Regions from separate parts of the Homo sapiens genome. Here regions 1, 3 and 4 are each linked to region 2. The links are contacts of gene promoters, found by promoter capture Hi-C in blood cells and fetal thymus (Javierre and others, 2016). All regions are on one chromosome and are shown on one strand. Each heading gives the region's core, a stretch centred on a gene start or on the middle of the fragment in contact. The rest is flanking DNA. Distances are from core to core; before and after follow the strand shown. Region 1 overlaps FLT1 (fms related receptor tyrosine kinase 1). Region 2 holds the start of FLT1 (fms related receptor tyrosine kinase 1). Region 3 holds the start of LOC105370135 (a long non-coding RNA gene). Region 4 overlaps FLT1 (fms related receptor tyrosine kinase 1).

Region 1 (5,956 bases), core at 2,464-4,963, 98 kb after region 2:
GACTAATATAAAATTTGATAGTCTAATTTTATTTATTTATTTATTTATTTATGTATTTTGGCATGATCTCGGCTCACTGCAACCTCTGCTTCTCATGTTCAAGCGATTCTCCTGCCTCAACCTCCCAAGTAGCTGGGACTACAGGCGCCTGCCACCATGCCCAGCTAATTTTTGTATTTATAGTAGAGACAGGGTTTCGTCTTGTTAGCCAGGCTGATCTTGAACTCCTGACCTCAGGTGATCCACTCACCTCTGCCTTCCAAAGTGCTGGGATTACAGGCCTGAGCCGCCGCATCAGGCCTAATAGTCTAATTTTATTTCAGCACTTCTGCTTTTTTCTCTTCCTCAGTCCTCTTTCATTTATTTTCAATTGTGGAAAATGAAAACTAATTATAGCACTAATACAAGTAGATATCCTTAAGAATTTATTTTTGCATACCTTATAGAATAAATGATTATAATTTCAAACGCACAACTCAAATTCTTGGTTACTTTCTCTTTGAAAGTATTTAGTTGATATTGCATGCCCTAACTGTGATGCTATTTTCGTTTTTTTCCCTTAACACCATAGTATTTGGATATAAGGACTGAGGAACAGATTTTTTCCTTTATTCAGAAGACTCAGACATTGAAACTCACTGTCTCATGCAAAGCTGCCTTCTAGTCCAGCCAGACTACACTGATCTACAATTTGCACCTGAGCTCCTTTCTCTGGCCCTATAAAGTTTAAATTTTAATTGTCAAATAATTTTATTTTTAATGAGAAAATGTTTGAATTTATAATTTAAAAATATATCCCCTGAAAGAGAAGTACTCTAGAAATGAGATAAATTTTAATAAAACTGATCATAGGATATGTTTCACCTTATTTTTAACTTTTCTTCTTTAGTGATAACCATTGTATTTATCAAATATATTTTCAAACCACATAACAACAGTTGAAGAGCAGCTTGCAGCTTATGTAAAATGTCATCAGAGAAGCCAACTAGTATTTCTGTAAATAGTAGTAGTATTTAATTTATGTTACCCATCTCTGCGGATTAAAGGAAGTATTCTCAAGGAAAAATTCAATTAAAGGTGTAGACAGAATTTTGCCAATAGATCTGTGTTATTCAACTTAAAGAGTCTCAAGGCGAGAAGCAATCTGGTGTAGAGATTAGGAGCATAGGCGCGGAGGCAGACACACCTGAGCATAAATTCTGCCCAGGCCTGTCTGTGGTCCTTTGCATCTTTGGGTGAATCATCTAATCTCTCGGAACCTCAGTTGTCCTACCTGTAGAATAGGGTAATATACCCATCTCACAGGGTTTTGGGGAGGATTAAATGAGACAATTCCTGTAAAGTGCCTTGCATGCTGCCTGGTGCATTGTAAGGCATACATAAAGGTTCGCAGAAACAAAGAAATAATGTAAACTCCCATCAACGTTGTTTTCTGCTTCTATTTTAATAGAAGCTTTGGAGACATGATTTCTGGGGCAGGCTTGACTACGAGTAATGTGTCTTGTTTGGAAGGTGTCATTCACACAAAAGAAGAAAAATTCAATACATTTCTGTCTCCATCTTGTGACCCGGATTCATTTCACTTCGGGGCACCTCAGTTTTATTCTCTGATTATACATAAATTTGGACCTATTTGACTATTTGTTGGGGACTTGTAAAATGGCCACGGCCATTCCCAGGTTACCTACACAGGTCTTAAATGTGGCAAATGTATACATCTGACTTGATTTTCCCTTGCCACGAAACCCAGTTCTTGTTCTCGGTTGCTCTAAGTTCAATGAAATCAAAATCTTTTAAATAAAAACCCAAACATGACTCATAGATGCAGATAAATGCTGTCCATAATTTCAAACACTCCCAAGCCAACAGAAATGGGTTTTTCACTTACTTACTGAGCAACAATTAATCTGAGAATCTAAGTAAGTTTCTCCTGAGGCCCATTAGGATAAACACTTGAGAACTAACTTCATAAAAAAAACAGTGCTGGAGCTGACACCCCAGCTTAAAAAGGCTTCATCTGAGCTCCTTGTTTCTGAATTTTTTGCATACTGCTTTGAAGGGTCTAAGCTTCCTGAGACAATGTAAGGGAGTCAGAGTCGTATTTGACGATCTCTCCTGTCTTCCAGCTTCCACCAGCTAACAGTTCTTTCATGTTGCCACCTACAAGCTTCTCTTCCAACTACTTCCATTTCCTTCCGTGACTCTAAACGGGTGGGTACAACAATTACAAGGAAATGGCTATTCAGAATTTTTTATGTCCCACCTCTTAAAAAGATTCATCATCAAAATAAGAAAAGGGACACCTGAGCTCTCTTTCGTACACTTTCCCATGGATTATTTGCCTTCATATGCGCTTTCCTTGCAAAAGAGAGAATAATTTTTGTATGATCTTCAAGGAGGGAAATTCTTCTCTATCACCTTAAAGAATGATAATGTTAAGGGAGGGATTGTGTCATATTCATCTCTGTCTCTCTTACAACATCTGGGCAATGCCTTGATAATCACTCAATAAATGTCTGCTAAATTGTCTGCCACATATTGCAGACACTTTCATTACCAATAATTTCAATAATACACAGGGAGTATATGGGTAGGTGTAATTAAGCAGATCCTTCCAACAAACAGAAGAGAAAGCACTGTGTACTACTCACTATACCACAGTGAAAATTGTAGAGAATTTGGACCAATGAATTTGCTGGCTAAAAACATGAGGAACATGTGTTTAAGTCTTCCTGATCTGTAGATTAAAGACAGAAATACCTTAATTTATTAGATGGGATAAGAGAACACAACTAAAGTGCCTAGCACATTACTTAGAAACTCAAGAAAATGTTAGGACTCTCTCCTACAGCCAAACCACTTGTAGAGTATGTCCACCACCTTGGAAAGTCAGCTGTCACATTTCAGCCTTACATTACTTTAGCCTGTAAGTCACTTGTCATTATACTTCAGCAAGGACACTCTATTAGTCTGGAATCATTTGCACAGCCTCTGCAATTTCAAAGCCCATAACCAGTTATTTTTGTCCTAGGACATAGGCTGCAAAGATTTATAAGTAACTGGACTAACTTTTCTTTTCCATAATTTTAAGTATGAGAAACTAGCTTTCTCATTTTTTTCATATAGATTATACACTACTTTTTAATGCAAGCTTGGGTTAAATTTAAGAATGTTTAACAATTTGTTTCATATTGCCAATTTTTTTTCTTTGGAAGAATGCAAGTCTTTAAGTTGTCTAAAATTTTGTTTCATTACTTTTTAGACATCAGAATTTGGAAAGTGCTTTCAAGTTCATGCAATTTTGACTGCTAATGTTTCTTTAGGGACTAAGTTGTCAAATAATAGCACTAAAGTCTAGTGGAACAATATAATTGCATTAATTCATAATTTAAATTTTCATCTTCTAGATTAGGAATAGATACTTAATTTATTAAGAGAAATTAGGTAATTTACACACACACACACACACACACACACACACACACACACACACACGGTCTCCTTCAGGACCATCCAGTGCTGCATGCCACATTATTTGAGCATAGAAAAAAAGTTTCAAGCCAGGTACAGTGGCATGTGCCTGTTGTCCCAGCTACTTGGGAGACAAAAGCGGGAAAACTGCTTGAGCCCAGAAGTTCAAGGCCAGCCTGGGCAACATAGCAAGACCCCATTTCTTAAAAAAAAAAAAGTTTCAGCCAAACATTATCTTCTGTCCTTGCTCACTTAACATGCCTGTTATAGAACCAAACAGCAGAGAAGGCTCCTGTTATAACTGGCATCTATGCTCTCAGGTCACCCAAACAAAAGGGAAGGCCTCAGCCTCACCTGTTCCTCTCATTGATGTGGAACTGACCACCTCATAGGGTAGGACGTGCAGTCCCACATCTCAGCTTCAGGTCTGTAATTGTTACGCCAGCAGCACGAGATAAATAAGCCTGAAACCCTCATATGAGTCGGATGTCATAGGCCCCGGTCTCCTGAGGACCTGCTTTCCTGTTATTTTTCCATTCTTGTTGGGGCTCGGCAAGGGGAGAGCCTTCTGGTAACCACCACCTATGCAATACTCTCTTTGCAGAATGAATGGAGTAGCTGAATCATTTCAACCTCAGAAGTAGCTTGGGGTGTTCAATTAGTTATTTGTCCTGTTGCTAGCTAAAGTTTCCTTTTCTTTTGCAGATGGCTAGCACCTTGGTTGTGGCTGACTCTAGAATTTCTGGAATCTACATTTGCATAGCTTCCAATAAAGTTGGGACTGTGGGAAGAAACATAAGCTTTTATATCACAGGTAAGCCACACATCCTATAACCAGAGACAGCCTGGTGACTTCATTCTCTCTTCAGTCTTGTTTGCTTTTAGTGCATTTATAGCTTGAGTGATTTTTTTTTAATTCCATAGAATTGTCAAACTTTGAGTGCCTTCATCCTTGCTCTCAGGAATAGAATTCTACCTCATCGGATCTCGTAAGGAGTTATTTCCCTGTATTCTCTTTTAGAGTTATTTGTGTTTGTCTCCCTCCCAGACTGGATTATGAATTGGGAATCTTGTATGCTCATTTTTTCATTCCCTTCAGTACCTAGCACAGGGTCTGGTACATAGCAGTTCAATACCAATCAAGGAAACCAATTATAATGCATATAATATGATGACATCGTTTTTGGTTTTGTTTTTGTTTTAACCAAAAGGTTAATTTTTTTACAACTTAGGTAATTTAGACTTTTTGGGGAATGAGGCTCTGTAGCAATCTGAAACAGAGCTTTATTAACAATAGTTAATGTGCTATTTTTTGATAGCATTTAAGAATTTTTAGCCTTAAATATGATGGTCTCTGCAAATCTTAAAAACCTCCAAGGTACACAAATGGCACTCCCTATGTCCCTCAATGGGTACAGGAAGGAAGTAAGTAGCTCAAAGTATAAAAACAATTGCCTGGCTCCACACTCCCCCAATTTCTGAGGAAACATGGGCAGTAAGCCAACTTTCTGGAAACTTCTCACTGCCCGGGGCAGGCTGCAGAAATTGCCAAAAGTTCTCCAGAAAGAAATAGACATGTCCAATTCCATGACACATATGTGTTGTCAGATCACAGGGGCCTCTGGCAAGTTAGCCAAGCCCCAGAGAAGCTGTGCCATGGGAGATATCCCTGAGTAGATTCTCATAGAACGTCAGGGCTGTCAGGGATTCTAGAGGCTATTCTGCATCATAGCTCTTGTATTTTCCAGATGAGCAAATGGGATTTGGACTAATTAAATACAAAGGTTTGCACTGTCCTTTATATTTGGTTGGAAACAAGTTACTGTCTCAACCCATAGTCGTAGTATGTCTGATTTAGAATACAAAAGACTGAAAAATTCCTGTTTTGTTCTGAACATTCAATAACTTTGTAACAGTTTAATCAGCACTGTTAAATGGTACAGTTCAACTCTACTGAGCACTTGGAGGAACATCAATGAAGTCCTGTCTTTCTAGGAACAGGTTTCTAACACCAAGGAAACAAACAAGAAATGTCAAATTACATATATCCTAGTATCAAAATTTATGTGCAGAGGTAATGTGACAGGTGAGCTTGCTTTCTAAAGCCACCACTGTCCAATAGAGATATAATATAAGCCACAAATACCATTTAAAACTTTCTAGTAACCACGTTTTTTTAAAAGTAAAATTAATTTTATTTAACCCAATATATCCAAACTATTGTGATTTCAATATGTAATCAGTATTTTTTAAAAATATTACACTGCTTCAGTTTTTACACTTAAATCAATTTAAATAAAATCAAATAAACTGAATATGCTTCAGTTCCTCTGACACAGTAGCCACATTTCAAGTGCTCAAAAGCCACATGTGGCTCACAGTTACCATATTGGACAGTGCAGCTGTAAGCCTCTGAGAAGGAAGCAGGACCTGAACAGGAAGAGAGAAGGTGGGATTTGAATAGGTGGAGAGAAGAAAACAGACT
Region 2 (6,447 bases), core at 3,397-5,896:
TGAGATGATGGAATTATGACTCATCCTCCAGACCTTCCCTTCTTTTAATCTTTCTAAAATGTTATATTTAATGACTATGAGTGTATTAAAAGTAATAAAACAGGAAAAAGAGTAAGGAGAAGAGTCAATGGCTGGCAGTTAAGTGCTGAGATACAACTGACCTTAGGCAAGATAGTAGTGATACTGATTAGAGGAGGTTCCTAGAGATTACTCTAATTGGCCACTTTTCCTTTAGGCCTTATTTGCTTCTCTGATTTGCCGCTTCCCCTGCCCCATGCTTCTCTAACTATCCCAGTCTGGTCTTTTTGTTTTTTTTCCTTTCAACTTTTCTAGTATGCCTTCAATAAAATGTACCTGTCTTATTTTCTCTTGCTAGGACCATCAATTATTCCTAAATAATGACATGGTAAATGTGAATGAGTTAATATGCAGCCTCCTTTGGTGAACATACAGCTAGAGATAATGACACAAAGGAATAATTTGAGTCCTTCCTTGGTTTGCTCAACCTCCACAGATCTCTACTTTCATCCATCCATTCATTCATTCATTCATTCACTCACTCAGCTTTGTCCTTGTCAGTGATTTTGATGATGACCCAGAAGGCACGTTTACCGTATTTGTGGATCATTTGAAGCGGGAGCTATAGAAAGTCCACAGGATGGCAGAATCAGAGACCAGAAAGACTTCGACATGCTGGAAAGACAGACTAAAACAAACAAAAGGCTTAAACAACACGCTCAGGGCCTGCAGCCTGAGTCAACCCAAGCGGCGGCTGCACAAGGGCAGCCAGATAGCAGCTCTCATGAGAAAGCCTTGGGGCTTTAACCAAGAATAAGTTCTGGAAGAGTCCAAGGTATGAAGGCGCTGACAGAAAAGGCTCCTTTGATCTTAGGTCCCAGGAACAGAAGCAAGTTCTCTCCGTAGTAGCCCCTGGGAGTAGCAGGAGGAGAATTCCAAGTAAAGCCAATGGCGATCTTATAAACACCAGCAGCGCCCACCCATGCCCGGGAGAAGGTAGTCAGGAGCAGACGGGAGCATGAGTAGCAGGAACAGGAGGAGCCAGGGAGCCCAGGCCGGCGGCCCCAGAGGTGCCACCAGGGCAGTGCTGCCCTGCTCTCGGTGGCACTGGCCTTATCTCCAGGAGGGGGCTGTCCCCTTTGCTTCCTTCTCCACGCTGCTCTTCCCACCTGAACGATTTTCCTTCCTCGCTCCCACTGGGCCTTCCCACAGGCTTTTCTCTCTGCCTGAAAGAAAAACTACCTCTAGGAGTAGGGAAATGATAATTGTGCTGCATTTTCAATCCTAAGCGTGTCACCTGCAGGGACACTGATATGCTGGATGGAATTTCTGGAGCGTGTCAGCTGAAGAGTGACCAAAGGGATGTGGATGTTGAGGCTGGAGACAAGATGCCCATGGCACAGGAGGTGTTTTTAAGTGTTCAATAAATTTTCATGTGGAGATATTGGAGCATTGAATAGGAATTCCACGAATTGACTCGGTAGATGGGTTGAATGGCTTTTAAACCCAGTACAAGATGTTTAAGTTCTTTGAAAATGGGGGCATTTCAGCCACAGTGGTAGCTTCCCATAGCAAGACTTTTGAGCCAATGGGGTCATCAGCATCTGATAAGTAAACTCATACATGTGCCTGCCTGGTGAACTCCGCAGAACTTCTTAGCAGAGATTTGGGAGCGTGTGCTTTTTAGACCAAGGAGCCTGAACTGTCCAGAGGATATGTACTGTGAAGCTTTTTAAAATATAACACAGAAGGGTTTTATGAGATCATTTGGTTCTTGTATTCAACCATACATATTTGCATTATGCAGAGTATGCCCATAGAGTGTATTTTTCCTTTTGTATCAAGCTACCTAACCCAAGTGGAAAAGAAATTCCTGACTGATCCTCAGTGACTGTGGCTGATCAGCTCCATGCTTGGTCTTTGGAGGAAGGTGAGAGCCTGGGCTCCCTCCTGTCTCTCACACTGGTGCTCCAACACTCTTATTCAGTCTCGAATATTAAAGCTGATGGATTTAGCAACAGTGTGCTTCTGAATAGGGGTGAGAAAGAAACCTCAAGAGAATGTTTGTAGCTGATAACAAGAGAGAGTGTCTGGTTTTGCTAACCAAACAGGAGATGAAATGTTCTTTTGTATGTGAGCAGGAAGCAAGCAGATTGCCTACTTCAATAGCTTTTTATACCCACCAGGCGTGTTGAATTCCATCTTCTCCATCAGTATTATCTATAAAACCTCTTTCATTAGTGATTTAGTTAGGAGAGTGCTATAGCCCATTCTCATTCAAAGGTATTATCTCTTTTGGGGAGAGGATTGGGAGCTATACATTTATTCCCCATATCTAAGCTAAAATTTGTAGCATTTTTGAGTTCTTTGTGAGAACGCTAATGCAACTAACAAAGAAGTCATAGTCAATAAATTGCTGACTCTAATTAAAAGCAACTTTTCAAAAGAGTAGTTGGGAAATGTGGAAGCCCACCCTTACTGCAGCATAGTTTTAATATAAATCTTAGATTCGACTGTGACTCTACTAACCTTAAATAATTGAGCAACATGTTAATATCATTGATTAGCATCTTAGATTATAAAGATTGTTTCAGCTGTCCATCAAATACCTGTTCTGGCTTTACAGACACAATGTAGATTCATTGCTGGCAGCAGGTTTGGAAAGTGTTGTCTCTTTATGAGTTAAAAATATCAAAATGGCATTTGAAAAAATGTATTAGCAAATTAAACCTTTGTACATGGTACTATGGACCACTTTCCCCCAGAGTCAAATGTGTGTCTCTCCTGAGAAGCCCTCCTTGGGTTTTCCCTGCCAATAAATGTGCCTTTACTTCTCTGAGCTGATGGAGGACTAAACACCCCTCCAGCACTGGAATGCCGGTCCTGCAGCCACTTCAAGTGTCCACCTTCTTATCACAGTCCAAGCCCTTTAGAAGGCAAAGATGATGGCTCTCCATCAGTGTTTTCAGCCCTAACCCAATGCCTGGCCCCTGTTGAATGCTGCAGAAGGACAATGCTGACAGCTTCTCCTTGAAAGAGGGTGTGGGAGTGACAAGCAGCTCTCAGGTGAGACCAACAGACACTGTGGCTCCGCACGTATGTCCCAGGCTGTGTTCTGGGCTGGGGGACCAGCAAGGAGAAGGATCAGCTGTCCGCTTCCAGCTGTTCTGAGGGATGATGCTGTGGGTTTTAGAGGAGGCAGGGGTGCGGGAGGCAGAGAAAGGCGCCAGGAAGAGTGGTGAGGAGAACTGGAAAAACAGAAAGCGCTGGTGAAGCCAGCAGGCAAGCAATGACTCCGGCAGTCTTCCTTGCCTCTGAAGCAGAAGGGATCCAGGGACAGTTAGTGGCTCAGGTCCTGCGGCTCCAGGTGCCCAGACGTGCATTTCCTGTGTGGAGTGGCCGGGGCCTCTCCTTGGTGTGCAGCCCAGAAATGTGGCAACTTTGGGTTACCCAACCTTCCTAGGCGGGGAGGTAGTCCAGTCCTTCAGGAAGAGTCTCTGGCTCCGTTCAAGAGCCATCACAGTCCCTTGTATTACATCCCTCTGACGGGTTCCAATAGGACTATTTTTCAAATCTGCGGTATTTACAGAGACAAGACTGGGCTGCTCCGTGCAGCCAGGACGACTTCAGCCTTTGAGGTAATGGAGACATAATTGAGGAACAACGTGGAATTAGTGTCATAGCAAATGATCTAGGGCCTCAAGTTAATTTCAGCCGGTTGTGGTCAGAGTCACTCATCTTGAGTAGCAAGCTGCCACCAGAAAGATTTCTTTTTCGAGCATTTAGGGAATAAAGTTCAAGTGCCCTGCGCTTCCAAGTTGCAGGAGCAGTTTCACGCCTCAGCTTTTTAAAGGTATCATAATGTTATTCCTTGTTTTGCTTCTAGGAAGCAGAAGACTGAGGAAATGACTTGGGCGGGTGCATCAATGCGGCCGAAAAAGACACGGACACGCTCCCCTGGGACCTGAGCTGGTTCGCAGTCTTCCCAAAGGTGCCAAGCAAGCGTCAGTTCCCCTCAGGCGCTCCAGGTTCAGTGCCTTGTGCCGAGGGTCTCCGGTGCCTTCCTAGACTTCTCGGGACAGTCTGAAGGGGTCAGGAGCGGCGGGACAGCGCGGGAAGAGCAGGCAAGGGGAGACAGCCGGACTGCGCCTCAGTCCTCCGTGCCAAGAACACCGTCGCGGAGGCGCGGCCAGCTTCCCTTGGATCGGACTTTCCGCCCCTAGGGCCAGGCGGCGGAGCTTCAGCCTTGTCCCTTCCCCAGTTTCGGGCGGCCCCCAGAGCTGAGTAAGCCGGGTGGAGGGAGTCTGCAAGGATTTCCTGAGCGCGATGGGCAGGAGGAGGGGCAAGGGCAAGAGGGCGCGGAGCAAAGACCCTGAACCTGCCGGGGCCGCGCTCCCGGGCCCGCGTCGCCAGCACCTCCCCACGCGCGCTCGGCCCCGGGCCACCCGCCCTCGTCGGCCCCCGCCCCTCTCCGTAGCCGCAGGGAAGCGAGCCTGGGAGGAAGAAGAGGGTAGGTGGGGAGGCGGATGAGGGGTGGGGGACCCCTTGACGTCACCAGAAGGAGGTGCCGGGGTAGGAAGTGGGCTGGGGAAAGGTTATAAATCGCCCCCGCCCTCGGCTGCTCTTCATCGAGGTCCGCGGGAGGCTCGGAGCGCGCCAGGCGGACACTCCTCTCGGCTCCTCCCCGGCAGCGGCGGCGGCTCGGAGCGGGCTCCGGGGCTCGGGTGCAGCGGCCAGCGGGCGCCTGGCGGCGAGGATTACCCGGGGAAGTGGTTGTCTCCTGGCTGGAGCCGCGAGACGGGCGCTCAGGGCGCGGGGCCGGCGGCGGCGAACGAGAGGACGGACTCTGGCGGCCGGGTCGTTGGCCGCGGGGAGCGCGGGCACCGGGCGAGCAGGCCGCGTCGCGCTCACCATGGTCAGCTACTGGGACACCGGGGTCCTGCTGTGCGCGCTGCTCAGCTGTCTGCTTCTCACAGGTGAGGCGCGGCTGGGGGCCGGGGCCTGAGGCGGGCTGCGATGGGGCGGCCGGAGGGCAGAGCCTCCGAGGCCAGGGCGGGGTGCACGCGGGGAGACGAGGCTGTAGCCCGGAGAAGCTGGCTACGGCGAGAACCTGGGACACTAGTTGCAGCGGGCACGCTTGGGGCCGCTGCGCCCTTTCTCCGAGGGAGCGCCTCGAGGAGTGGCTGGCCTGGACCCGCGAGCATCAGCGCTCAGACCGGGTCCGCGCTGGGGCTGTCCGTTTGCGACAGGATCGCTGATCCCTTATCCAGCTGTCGGGTTGGGGTCTCACTGCCGAGGCCCTGGGCACTAGGAGCAGCACGCACCGGGACCTGCCTGGCACCCAGAGCCCATTCCCAGAGGACCTGGGGCAGGTACGCAGGGTCCCCCGGAGCCGGGAGCAGAGGCTCCTGAAAGCCTGCCAGGCTGCCCGGGGCTGGGCTGAGGCCGGGACTTTGGTGATATTGGGCACTGGCCGCGACCTCGCGTCACGAGAGTGTAGGAGGGGAGCCGATTTGGAGGGGACTCGTGCCTGCGGGGGAGCAGGAGGATCTCAGGAGAGGGCCAGCGCCGGCATCCCATGACCCGCTTGAGTCCCCAAGCCGGACTGTCCCGGGGAACGCTCGGCGAGCGCCCGCTCCTCCCCGCCGCTCTCGGACCGCGGGGCCCCAGTGCGCTGCGCTCAGCCACCCGGGTGGGGCCTCTGCCGGGAGCAGGCGTGGTGCGCGGTCCAGTCCGTGTCGCGGACATCAGTGACCCTGACCCACAAGGGCAGCCCAGGGCCCAAATACCGTTAACTTACTGACTTACAAGCCTAGCCTTTAAAATCCGAGCGAAGAGAGGGCGGGCGATTTTGACCAAACGATGTGGTTTGAGGAATCGATGAGGTCCGCCCGCCACCTAAGTCAGCCTTCGCTGGGCGTTTGGGAGACGGGCGGTGGAACAGTCAGGGGCCGGGGGTTTTACCAGCAGTTAGACCGCCGCCATTGAGGGGTCAAAGCCCCGAGGAACTTGAGGGTTCGGACTCGCAGTCTCTGCTCAGTGGGGCTGAGTGGCGGAGATTTGTGCCTCGTTCCCCTGGGCGCAGAGAGCCAGATTTCGGAGCGCCTTTCTTTTAAGCATCGTGGAGAAAAGGTAAAATATGAAATAAAATATAGTAATATAAAATAAGTCATTGCAATGATTCCCGGGAAGAAAAGTCAATAGGATGGAGCGTAGTACAACAACAACAACAACAAAAAGCTTGTTAAACCCAAAAAGCAGTAATAATTAAATATTCTTTCTCAGTGGGAAGACTAACTAGACCGTCAGTTTCCAAGTAACAAGTAATAGTTCCAATTAGATTGGAGAAACTACTAAACCCGGAGACAGGGCGAAGTGGTAACTTCTGAGAACTCACTGTAGGTTGGGAAAGGTGCTAACATAACTATA
Region 3 (6,266 bases), core at 2,166-4,665, 81 kb before region 2:
CCAGGTTAAAGCAGTTGGATTTTTTTGCAAAAAAAAAAAAAAAAAAGAGGAAAAGAAAAAGAATGTGAGCCACTGCAAGATGTTAAGGAGAGGAAGGAGGGAAGGCAGGATGTTAAGGAGGGGAAGGAGGGAAGAGGCAGGGCCTGTACCACGGGCATGCGGGGCCAGTGCAGTTGCACAGGACAAGCACCCAGAAGGTTAGGGTTTAACACTCTATAATTGCTCTCTTGAAATTCTTCAGAATTTTACCTTTGAACTTGTGCTCCCTAAGTGAAGTGTAACGAGACAATGGAGCCTGCCAGGAATGTGGAGCCTCACGCATGCGTGCTCCTGCCTCCTGTTGACTCCCAGGATGTTTTCTCAGACATCTGTTCTTCTCCCGGTGCCTTGGCCCTGCCCAATTTCCCCTCCCTGCCCCCACCCTACTACAGATGCTGCCCTTTACCCAGGGAAGTAGCTGGGTCACACGAAGTGAGGAGACCACGTTCCACCGTCACTCTCCATCCCTGGTGGGGGCCCAGGAGGACACATGTGGCAGGCTGGTGTCTTAGTCTGTTGGGTGCTGCCATAACAGAATACCTGAGACAGGGTCATTTATAAAGAACAGAAATTGACTATCTCACGGTCCTGGAGACTGGGAAGTCCGGGATCCAAGGTGCTGGCATCTGGTGCAGGACTTCTTACTTGATCCACATGTGGCAGAAGGCAGAAGACGAAAGGGCAAGAGAGAGTGAACCCACTCTCACAAGCCCTTTTTGCAATGGCAAGCAAGATTCCACTCATGAGGGCAGAGCCCCAGTGACCAAAGCACCTCCCAAAAGGCCTCACCTCCCACACTGTTGCATTGGGGATTAAGTTTTCAACACAAGAATTTTGAAGGGGACAAAAACATTCAAGCCACAGCAGTTGGGCATACGGCTTGCAGCATCTCAGGGCAGAGCAAGGCAGCAGGTGTCAACCCCCCGACACACTCAGTGGGAAGCTAAAACAGGGCCTTATGCCCACCCCAATCTGGGTACCAAGTGCATTCCAGTGTGGAGATGGCAGCCCCTCGGAGGCCGGCCATCGGCTATGGGTGGGTGCAGCAGAACCTGCGGGAAGGGAGACTGGCATCCCAGCCGCAAGGTGGGGCACTGCATTTTCCCAAAAATGATGAAGCCAGCCTGGGCCCTTGAGAAATTCTAAGAATCAGATCATTGATGTCCAGCTGCACTGGACTTCTAAGTAGAGTGAGAATGAGTGTGGGTCGTGTGTCATGTCACTGAGATTTGGCGTTGTCACCACAGCATGACCAACTCATCCCGCCTAGTGGTTCTTCCAAACTTTCACTTTTCTGCTAACCCTCTGCCCTAGCCCAATCCCATTCACTCTCACACTTTGCCTCCTCATTGCTGAGCAGATAGAGGCCATCAGGAGAAAAAGCCCTCAACTTCGTTTTCAAGCACATGGGAACATTTCTGCTTCTAAGCCCACCTTTGCCCCATGGAATTGGCATCTCCCCACCCCCAGGTCCCTGCTTCCTGTGCCTTCCAGCTCCCACCCCCTTCTCATCCCACCCCGCATGCTCAGGGGCATGGCTCCACGTAATCCTCCTCTCTCCTGTATTTCAACCTCTCTCTGTCTCTGCTGGCTCACTCCTCTCAGCATCTAAACCTCAGTTTCTCCCATCTTAAAAAAAAAAAAAGACATCACTTTGAATCATAAACCCCCTCATAATCAAGTCTCTTGGAGAACTGACAACTTGTTCATTTCTTTATTCAGCATACACGTATTGAGTTTGTACATCCATGCTGGCTACTTTACTGGCGGCTGTGGACACAAAAGATGAACACAGTGGGGTCCCCATCTTCAAAGAGCTGGCGGTGGGGTGGGGAGAGCAAGGACGAACAGGTGGCAGTGCTGACCATGGGGTACCATGCTAGCGATGAGCACAGGGAGCTGAGAGCTGAAGGGAGGGGGGATCCCTGGGGTCTCAGTCCAGGCAGAGCAGAGGGCTTTGGGGAGCAGAGCTAGAATGGGAGGCATTGGGGGGTGGAGAGGAATCTTGGGGACTTGGTCATGAAGAACTTTATAAGTGAAACTTCATCCTGATTTGTGTTTTTAAAAAATATTCCTCAGTTTTGTTTAAAGTTAGGCAGCAAATCTTGGAAAGACTGGATTAAGGCGGGAGGGAGTGTGGAGAACAGGGAATGGCATCAAGAGATCCTAAGGGAAAGGGATCAACAGAACTCAAAAACTGGCCAAGTACATCATGTGGAAAGAGGGAGGAGTCCGTGATGCCCTCTGGTTTCCAAGGGGGCCCTTCAGCAAGACAGCGGCCCCCCAGGAAGAATAAGGCATCAGGAGAAGAGAGTAACTTCACTTTCTCATTCACTGCAAATTGGCTTTTATCCCTGTCACCCCACTGAACCTGCTCTTATGAAGGTCTCCAATAACTGCCCAAGTGACAAGTGCAAGGAGAAGTCCAAGTTTTCATTTTACTTTTTGGAGACATTCTGAATTACTGGCTGTCAGGTACCACATCATCAATCGCACCCCAAGCCCAATGCCTCCTTTTTGCCCCCGAACACTGTGGCCCTGGTATTCCCCTTGGAGCAAGGCACTTGCCCTGGCGCTACCATCCAGCCAGAACTCTGGAAGCCCCTCTGCCCCTCTCATTCACCTCCCACATCTGATTAGTTATCAGATCCTGTAGATTCTGTCTCTCAGCTATGTCTTCAACCCAAATCCTGCTTCTTACTTGCAACACCACCATCTGGGTTCAGACCTTCACGGTTTGTCATCATTTCTACCATCGTTGCCTCACTGGTCCCCCTTCCCCTGCCCCCCTTCACTCATCCTCCACCCTCCCACTTTAACTACCTTTTTCCCATGAGAATCTGCTTCTGTGCTACCCCTAGTTAGAATCTTTGATAATTATTTATTTTTTTGAGACAGAGCCTCCCTCTGTTGCCCAGGCTGGAGTGCAGTGGCACAATCTTGGCTCACTGTAACCTCTGCCTCCTGGGCTTAAATGATTCTTCTGCCTCAGCCTCCTGAGTAGCTGGGATCACAGGTGCCCACTACTTTCAATAATTCTTCAAAGCTTCAAAACAAAATTCAAACATCTTAGCTCACCTCCCAAGTCTTTTCCTGATTGACCCCCGCTTATCCCTCTGGCCTCATCTCTTGGTTCTTCTGCACACCCAGGTGTGTAGGCTCCTCTCCCTCCCCTGACCTCATCACGGGCTTCTCACCTCTGTGCCTCCCCACTGCTGTTCTGGCCTTGGAAGTGCTTCCTCTGTTTGTTCATTTAGAATCTAAGTTCTAGGTAACACCTGCTTGTCCTTCCAAATAGGTAACACCTGCTTGTCCTTCCAAATTCAGCTCAGGTCCCAACTCCCAGGAAGCCTTCTCTGAGCCTGTATTCTGAATTAAATAACCTTCTTCTGGGCCCCTGGGCTTCTGAGGCATTCCCCCAACACAGAGCTGACCAAGAGTGCTATAGTAATTGTTTCCCAGCTGCCTCTGTCTTAAACTGGAATTTGTCCCCCACTTCTGGGATAGGATCTGATGTGTAACAAGTGTTACGTAACCAATTGTGCAGCAGGGTTGCCAATTCATGCAGGTACCATTTGACATATAGATTAACCCACCATGATTTAATTTGGTCTATAAATAACTGGATCATTTTTATTTTTCTCTGTCCCCATCCATTGGCTACTGGGAACATTTTCATGAAATGGCTCATCCAGGTTAAAGCTTACCCCACTCCAAAATTTAAATTATTTCTCTTTTATTTTATTTTTATGTATTTATTTTTTTTGAGACGGAGTTTTGCTCCTGTTGCCCAGGTTGGAGTGCAATGGAGCAATCTCAGCTCACCGCAACCTCTGCCTCCTGGGTTCAAGCGATTCTCCTGCCTCAGCCTTTCAAGTAGCTGGGATTACAGGCATGCAGCACTGCACCAGGCTAATTTTGTATTTTTAGTAGACACAAGGTTTCACCATGTTGATCAGGCTGGTCTCAAACTCCTGACCTCAGGTGATCTGCCCACCTCGGCCTCCCAAAGTGCTGGGATCACAGGCATGAGCCCCCATGCCCGGCCTCAATTATTTCTCTTTTATAATCACTTGTGTAAATCACTTGATGATTTTTACTCGTGTAATCACTTGATGATTCTAATTGCTTCTCTTGTATAATCGCTCACTCTCTCAGATGGCCTTGCCTCCCTCTGGCTTCTTTCCCTAAGATGGCATCTGATGTTGGGGGATGGGGAGTGTGGCTGTTTCGTTCTGTGGCCGTTGAGGAAGAGAGGGCCCCTGGGCTCCTGCAGGCATGAAGGCATCTGCTTTGTGGTATCTGCTGGCCTCTGGTGTAAAGTCCCTCATCTGCCCGGCTGTTGCTTGTCACACCTGTCTGGGAGTCCAAAGTCTATGGCTATTGAGTTCATAGTCTGCTCAGTTCCCGTGAGCAAGCAATCATCCTTGGGGTGCTGGGGTTGACTGGGCCTCCCCTCGTTTCCCGTTGACTGTGGATACCCTCATATTCCCAATAGGAAAAAAATCAATGACTGCCGTCACAAGACACAGTTGTTGAACCTTTCATCAATGCTCCGTAAAATACTTTCTGATTCTCAGACTCTCTTCTAAATATTCACAACAGGAAACATTTCGTCCAGCCTTACCTTCTGTGGATGATTCTGAAAACAGGTGTCAAAACTGATATGCCCTCCTCCAGAAATGCTGCTCTGTTGCTCCAGCTGAGCCTCCCTGATAGAGAAAGTCCGCCCATCAACAACATGTGTGTTGCTATCAGGTCCCCACGTCCTCTTCTAAGAAACACTGAAAACTTCCTGTTCCCAGGGGAAAAGATTTCACCTCACATTCCCAATAAAACCTAGTAAATAGAGGTGTGAGTCATTTCATGGAGTCCTCTGAAGAACACGTCAATGAATAAAGGCTGTTTTGTGAGTCATCGAGTTACACTGCTAGACGTGAACCATCGAAAGCAGTTTCCACCAAGGCAATCTGAGCGATGATGCGTCAAGCATTTCCTCTTCCTCCAGAGCATGTGTGACGGGAAGTTCGTGGCCTAGTGTGCATGGCTCTGTGCTTGAACATTTGCTCCAGGGCCTTTTGCTGCCCCTTCATCCTTGGCTTCCCACTCTAGTTGTGGGTCCAAGATGGCCTTGACAAGGGCTTCACAGAGAAGGTAGAGGAACAAGACCAAGAGAAATGGCAGGAGGTGGAAAATTGTGGAATTAAAAAAAAAAAATTAATGATACAGAGGTGAAGTGAAGGAAATGGTTGGAAACATCATTTCCTTTTGGCTCTTTCTTGGCCCTCTGAGTAGGCCAGATTAACCCCTGGCATCCCACCTCCCATGTGCCCACTGTGTCACAACCTGTGTGACACTTGAGGACTTGGTAGTTAAGATCCATTTGGACACCCCAAAGAGGAGAGCATGGAGATAACAAGGAAATGTTGAAAGACCCATATGTATGTGGGATTAGAACTGATTTTGGAACAGGCCTTGCGTTTGAATCCAGAGATCCAATAGGTCATATCTAGATGTGTCAAAATGCTTGGAGGTAGGAAGAAAGGGAACTTAAGAGAGAAGCGGTGGGGTGGGGCCAAGAGAGGGACATTGCTCAAGATAGGCAGAGAATTGCACTTGAAGAAGTGCCCTAGAGCTCTGGATGTGGGTTAGGAGGGTAGCATGGCCAGTGTCTCAAAGCTGTTTGTCCATCCAGAGGAGCGCAAGGCCGGCGTCATGTACTACATTTGCCCAGAGCCCCATGCTCAGAAGAGCCCATGCTTGGTTCAATGCTCTCTTGTCATCATTTTGAAATTCTTAATTTTTGAACAGGGGCTTGCCATTTTCATTTTGCACTGGGTCCCACAAATAATCTAGCCAGTCCTGGATGGGGGCATTTAGAACTTTGTCTGCACATGCCAGATGAACAGCCTGGGACTTGTGACAGACTGACCTCCCAGCTGCCCGTGAGCAAGGAAAGAGAAATTTTTGGCTACTACCGTTCGAGGAATTTCAACTTGTACATATTCAATGAGGAGGATGCTTGAGAAGGAAGCCTTTTCAGTTTCGTATCATGTCGAGGGCTTCTGGCAGTGGAGGGTGACTGTGCTGACAGTAGAAGCCATCTTTAGCGTAGATTTGGATGGACTCATTTTAAAGAATTCCAGAAGGTACATCCTTTGCAGAAAAGCCCCCCAAAGCAATATTAGCAAGATTGCTTTAAAGTGTTTAGTTTTATGCACTTAATA
Region 4 (6,364 bases), core at 1,004-3,503, 110 kb after region 2:
GTCTCTCCTTTGCCCTCTTCATCTAATCAATCACCAGACTGAGCAGATTACACCTACTAAATACTAAATATTTCTCAAATCCATTCCTTTCTCTGCTTCCCCATTATTCTCTCGGTCCAGACACTCATTACCTAGCCTCTGAACACCTTCAGTGGTCTCCAAACTTGTCTCCCTATCTCTCTTTGCATCTACTTTCAACACAACAGTATAAAATGCAGCTGTGAACATGTCACTTCCCTGCTTCAAGTCTTCCACCGGCTCCAACTCTTCAACCCTAACACACTTCGATGAAGTTCAAGAATCTGACAGAGAATGCCCTCAATATCTAGCCCCTGCCTACTCCTACGACGTTATGCTCAGAGTCGCCTGACTTGAATTTTATAACTTTATATTCCAGCAGTGCCAAACTCTGGTAGATCACTGCAGACATTATGCTGTTTAAACTCCCTATGCTTTCTTTGGTTCCTGTTTACTCTCCGCCTGGAGTACCTTCCCTTCCTTTGTCGCATCCCTTAAGACCCAGATTGGGTGTTCTCTCTCCAACTAGGCCTTACACAACTCCCACAAATAGGAGGCAGATCCTCCGTGAGTCTTTATTACTTATAACTGTTTCTACTTCTCTCTTGCTGAGACTTTTAAAAATCATCAGTTCATGTGTGTCAGTATTACCTATGCATATTTCTACTCCTCTCTTATGTATTTTTTTAAATCACCAGTTCATATATGTCTCCCCTCCAGAGGGCAGATAGATAGTTTATCTTATTTGTCTTATTTATGTCTTGTCTTTTCATCTTCAGAACCTAACACAGTACTTGACAATTAATAAATAAATGTTCCATGAATGAATGAATAAATGGTTTTCAGAAAATCTTAGGCTATCCTTAGCAAACTCATAGTGGTAGCACAAAAGCCTCGATTTGGCATGGGGGTGGGGCCCATATCATGGAAGTTTTAAAGCTCAAGGGACCTTTAGAGTATCTTTAGTCTAACATGTAGAATGGAAAACTTAGGCTCAAAGAGGTAAAGTGATTTGCCTAAGATGACACACTACCAAGATGGGTAGTTTTGTGGAAAGCTAGTCCCTTGAGAGGTTCTCCCAGAATAAAAGGATGAATAAATACATGAATAAATAGCTTGTGAAAGAAATTGGTAAACTGTACTAAGTTTTTTTGTTTTTGTTTTGTTTGTTTGTTTGTTTTTGAGATGGAGTCTTGCTCTGTCGCCCAGGCTGGAGTGCAGTGGCATGATCTTGGCTCACTGCAACCTCCATCTCCTGTGTTCAAGTGATTCTCCTGACTCAGCCTTCTGAGTAGCTGGGATTACAGACATCTGCCACCATGCCTGGTTAATTTTTTGTATTTTTAGTAGAGATGGGGGTTTCACCATGTTGGCCAAGCTGGTCTCAAACTCCTGACCTCAAGTGATCCACCCACCTTGACCTCCCAAATTGCTGGGATTACAGGTGTGACCCACCGCACAGGGCCAACTGTGCTAAGTTCTGTATTCCTCAAACTTACTTGATCACAAAATCCATTTTATGAAAGATTAGTGTAGGATGTTGAGTGATTCTTTGAAAGAAGTAAATGTGAAATAAGTTCAGTTTTTATAATTTGGAAGTGGGTTAAAGAATCAGAGTTAAAATGATTTGGGAAGCTTAGAACCATTATGAGACTAGAGGAGAGACAAGGCAAGAGAATGTGTCTCAGCAGCTACCACATGCAAAAAAAGAGTCCAGTGTGCTGGGGAGATCAGGGCTTGAGTCCTAGCATGGCCCTCATGAGTCATATAAGAATTTGGGCAACTCATTATTCCTTACTCTCGGAGCCCTTTTTCCCCTATTTATAAAATTGGGATAATTCTGACCACACAGGGATATGGTAAGGTTTAAATGAGTTAACGTAAGCTGGCCCATAGTCTTGGCTTGTTCAATGCTGCCTTCTGACCCACCTCATTTATACAGAAATTGTCCAGTGAGTTGGCAGAATTCACTGGAAGGCATCAGAGTTAATTAATAAGCTCAAATGTCAAACAACCCTAAAACAAAATAATACAGATTCTCCCCCCACCACCCCTCCACCACCCAGCTTTCTCTGATCTTCTGAGGGCCAAACCAAAAGAATAATATCTAAAAACAGGTCATATAAAGTCTTACACAAAATATTCTATAAATATCATTCTAGGATGCTACTATTTAGCAATTTAGCACTTATTAAGTTCAGCTATACCAAGTCAGCAATTTTCTTTCTCTCGCTTCCTTTTATTCACTCTGTAAAACCACTATAGCCTTTAGGAAAGGGCTTTCTTAATTTTCTGGAGATAATCTTCCCCATGTATATAGTTTCTGTAAAGTTCCATACGTAATATTCCCATTTCAGGAGCAAATGCAATAGCCAATGCAATATGCTCCATGACGATGACCCTTATGTTTGTATATATGAGTATCTTCAAAACTGCCAACTCTTTTATGACTATTTCTTTTTGTAAACCTATGAATAAAGGTAACCAAAGTGATAATCCCTGATTCGCCAATTGTTGCAAAACTGAAATGGAAGAGTATTAAGATCATGGCCTGCAAAGACTGAAAAGTAGTTTGTTATATACTCAGCCTTTAGCCAGCTTGACTGAGTTTTAAAACCCTGAAAATAAACTGTGTGTCCTTTAGATACTTGAGGTGCACCTTTTAGATGAAGCCTGGCAGCTCAAAAAGGATTGATATAGCAAGAGAATTTTAGTGACCTTGGATCATTGATAGGATCCAGTCCATTATCATTGTTATTTTTTAAATGATGACTTGCTCCCATTCCAAAGAAAATATTAGAGAGGAAGTGAGGCACACACAAGGGCTCAAGCTTTGTACAAGCGCCTATAAAATGCCTACTTGGGGTAGTTGGAGCTTTTTCCTCCCTTATCATTTCCTTTCAGGAAAAAACTGTCAGTGGGGCACAGCCATTCACCAGAAGAAAGGCAGTTTTAAGAAAGTGTTATAAAAGCTGAGTAGTAAATTCTTGAGCCAAAGGGCATCAAGCAGGAATAAAAGGGATCTTAAGCATGCAGGCCCTGGAACGCATGTGAACGGATTGCAAGAGACAATCTTGGCCAGGGCAACCCAAACAAGAAGAGACAGGGCCTTGCACACCACACTGCCTGAGTACCTCGGGGTTGGCATGCTGTCTGCTGCGCGTGCCCAACTCCCAGCACCGCTGTCAGGCTTCTCAGGGCTTCGATTGCTTGGCCCCATCCAGCTCGTTAGCACTAACTTCCTGCTGCGCCCTGACACCACTCTTCCTCACTTTTTCCTTTCTCCTCTTCTCCCTTCGGTCCTCTGGGCCATGGGCTGCCTTCAGTTCTTGCCTGAAAAATTCTCTTTCCTCTCACTACGTTATTCTCCTCCCACTAATGCTTTTTTGTTTTGTTTTGTTTTTTTTGAGATGGAGTCTTGCGCTGTCGCTCAAGCTGGAGTGCAGTGGCACAATCTTGGCTCACTGCAAACTCCGCCTCCCAGGTTCTGGTGCTTCAGCCTCCTGAATAGCTGGGATTGCAGGTGCATGCCACAACGCCAGGCTAATTTTTGCATTTTTAGTAGAAACAGGGTTTCACCATGTTGGCCAGGCTGGTCTTGAACTCCTGACCTCAAGTGATCTGCCTGCCTCAGCCTCCCAAAGTGCTGGGATTACAGGTGAGAGCCAACACGCCCAGCCCCACTAATTCTTGATGTCGTGAAAGATCTTCTCTCACCTTCCAGGGAAGTGATTCTTCCTTTTTTCTGATGTCTAGGTTTATTTACAACTCATGTCATTGAGCACATCACTTCATTGTTCTCTGGTGTTACATGTGTTTATTTTATAATATCTTAATATGTCTTCTCTATTAAACATAGCAATATAAGATTTATTGAGCGTTTACCAGGTACCAAGGCACCGTGTTAAGTGTTTTGGAGATAACTCATTTAATTTTCACAACTATCCTTTGAGGTAGGGACATTATTAGATACATTCCACAGATCTGTTTTACTTAACAAGCACCTGCGAGGTTTCTGCTGCTGCTTTAGAACTTACCTAATGCTAATTTGTTTGCTTTTCATTACAATTCTGTGAGGTTTGCTGAATGATTCTGACCGTTTTACAGACTAATGGATGAGGAAGCTGAGACATAGAGAGGAAAAATAACTGGTCCCAGGTCATAGAGTTAGTGAGTAGCCCTCCAAGGTTCAGACCAGAAGAATTTGACTCTGAAGCCTGCACTCTGCACACTGAACATATGGGCATTTAGCATTGAGCATAACTAAATGTTAGCTCACCTCACTCACAAGAGAACAAATGAGCATCAGTTTTAAATGATATAGTGGGCACCAATAAACATGTATTTAAAACAATGAATATCTGCTCATTCTCAGCCCTTAAAGATTAAGTCTCGGTCAGGCACGCTGGCTCATGCCTGTAATCCCAGCACTTTGGGAGGCTGAGGCAGGCTGATCATGAGGTCAAGAGATCGAGACCATCCTGGCCAACATGGTGAAACCTCGTCTCTACTAAAAATACAAAAATTAGTTGGGCATGGTGGCGCATGCTGATAGCCCCAGCTACTCAGGAGCCTGAGGCAGGAGAATCTCTTGAACCCGGGAGGCGAAGGTTGCAGTGAGCCGAGATCACGCCACTGCACTCCAGCCTGGCAACAGAGCAAGACTCCAACTCAAAAAAAAAAAAAAAAAGATTAAGTCTCTTGAAGACTTCAGTTTATTTAAAGCATGTTTTGAAACATTTTAAAAGCATATTAAAATCACATAAAGCATTTTTTTTAAAAACTAGACATGCCATGTATAAAGGTAAACATTATTCTGAACCCAGATTGGGGGTTACTTTTAAGATATAAGGTAAATTAAAGATTAAGTCTCTTGAAGACTTTGGTTTCTTTAAAGCATGTTTTGAAACATTTTTAAAGCATATTAAAAACACATAAAGCATTTTTAAAAAACTAGACATGTATAAAGTTTAAAATTATTTTGAACTCAGATTGGGTGTTACTTTTAAGTTGTAAAGGTCCAGAATGCATGTCCTATCAGCCTAATACTCATATATTTACTTATTTAACAAATATTTATAAGTCACTGCTTTGTGTCTGGCACTGCGCTAGGCTCTGCAAATACAGCAGTGAACAAGAAAACTGAAATCTGAAGAACCAAAAATCTAGAGTAATTAAGTGATGCATGTATTTACCTGAAATACGCTTCTTCAAGCAACAACCCTGTGTGTCCTGCCTTATTCGCTATTATCGTGTCAATTGGTCTAAAAATGGAATAAGGCAAATTAATAAATGGGCAATCAGAAAAATTCTATGGCTCAATCATGGTATCAAAATATCTTTAATACATTGGATAGCTGAAAAGATACACCCTTTGTGCTTTAATTTTCCTATGTTCATGCTGTGCATACAATAAGTTCTCAATTGTTGTTAGCTGTATATACAGAAAGGAGGAAGAGATAAGGGGAAATTAGTAGGGGCTCCAAATTAGAACTGAGTAAAGAAGCAACTGGGAACTCTTAGAAGGGACTGATGTGGTGCAAAGTGTTGAAAGATGAAGGTAATTTAAGACCTATTTACTTTGAAGAGGCAGGTGAAAAGAGAGTAGACAAGCTGAAGTGAATATAATACAGAGAGCCAGAGATAAGAGAGGAAAATGCAGTGTGAAGGGACTAATACCAAGAAGCACCACACAAGAGTTCAAAGTCAGAGATGAATCCTGTTTGACAGTAGTTGCTTTGAGTATGGTCTGATTCCTAGGGGTACATGGACAGCAAAGCTCCTTTTAGAAACATTTCTTTCTGTTGGGCTAAAAATATTTAAGGTTTGCAAACCAGACTTGGAACAATGGTACAGTGTCACCTTGGAGAACCCTTGACCCTGAGTGTCTTTACTCCCTCTTCAGGCCACCCGCCTAAAGGACTGGCAGCTCTCCAAAATAATCAAAAAGTCTCCTTTCTACCTTACCCTCTTCCCAGGTTCTCCAATGAGGTCGTAAAATATTTCAAGTTATGACATTGCTGAGCAGGTGCTGCAAGAGGGGCTACTGGCAACCCTCTTCACAGTGGCACTGTAAGGAAGTAACATAAGTTGGCCAAGAATATATGGCAGAAGGCCTATCTAGTTTAGGTTTGCACTGACACAGGCACAAACCATCTCACAAGTGATTGTGCTCTGAAAGAGTCATTAAAAGGCTGAAAAAAGTAACAAACCCTCCCTCTCTGGAAATATTTGAGAAAACAGAAGGCAATCTTGATCTTAGATGTTCTTAGTAAAGCCTGCCTGAACCAATAAACCATCATCAAACTATTATTTAAGCTAAATTTTTATGATAGCAAAACATTTT

Evidence for each region. The method cuts DNA at HindIII sites, captures the fragments that hold promoters and counts their contacts. A CHiCAGO score of 5 or more calls a contact.
Region 1: a contact is called between a fragment that was not itself captured here and the fragment with the promoter of FLT1 in region 2, in 3 of 17 cell types (monocytes, endothelial precursors and megakaryocytes). The highest score is 10.2, in monocytes.
Region 3: a fragment that was not itself captured here is called in contact with the fragment with the promoter of FLT1 in region 2 in 1 of 17 cell types (monocytes); the score reaches 5.8 in monocytes.
Region 4: a fragment that was not itself captured here is called in contact with the fragment with the promoter of FLT1 in region 2 in 1 of 17 cell types (monocytes); the score reaches 6.4 in monocytes.

The regions. Positions count from the first base shown.
Region 1 is chr13:28,395,289-28,401,244 of GRCh38, reverse strand. It overlaps FLT1 (fms related receptor tyrosine kinase 1), which reads left to right. Exons shown (of 30, transcript NM_002019.4): 12 at 4,177-4,285. Among named protein-coding and RNA genes, the nearest start is that of FLT1, 97 kb to the left of the region's middle. The HindIII fragment of the contact is 1,120 bases long and covers 3,154-4,273 here.
Region 2 is chr13:28,493,327-28,499,773 of GRCh38, reverse strand. It overlaps FLT1 (fms related receptor tyrosine kinase 1), which reads left to right and starts at 4,646. Exons shown (of 30, transcript NM_002019.4): 1 at 4,646-4,994. The coding sequence starts at 4,931. RefSeq lists silencers at 4,741-4,790, 4,911-5,030, 5,111-5,160. The HindIII fragment of the contact is 4,512 bases long and covers 1,749-6,260 here.
Region 3 is chr13:28,573,535-28,579,800 of GRCh38, reverse strand. It overlaps LOC105370135 (a long non-coding RNA gene), which reads right to left and starts at 4,789. Exons shown (of 3, transcript XR_941799.3): 1 at 4,667-4,789. RefSeq lists an enhancer at 4,229-5,428. The HindIII fragment of the contact is 656 bases long and covers 3,088-3,743 here.
Region 4 is chr13:28,376,395-28,382,758 of GRCh38, reverse strand. The region is part of intron 14 of FLT1 (fms related receptor tyrosine kinase 1); the gene reads left to right. Among named protein-coding and RNA genes, the nearest start is that of FLT1, 120 kb to the left of the region's middle. The HindIII fragment of the contact is 1,196 bases long and covers 1,656-2,851 here.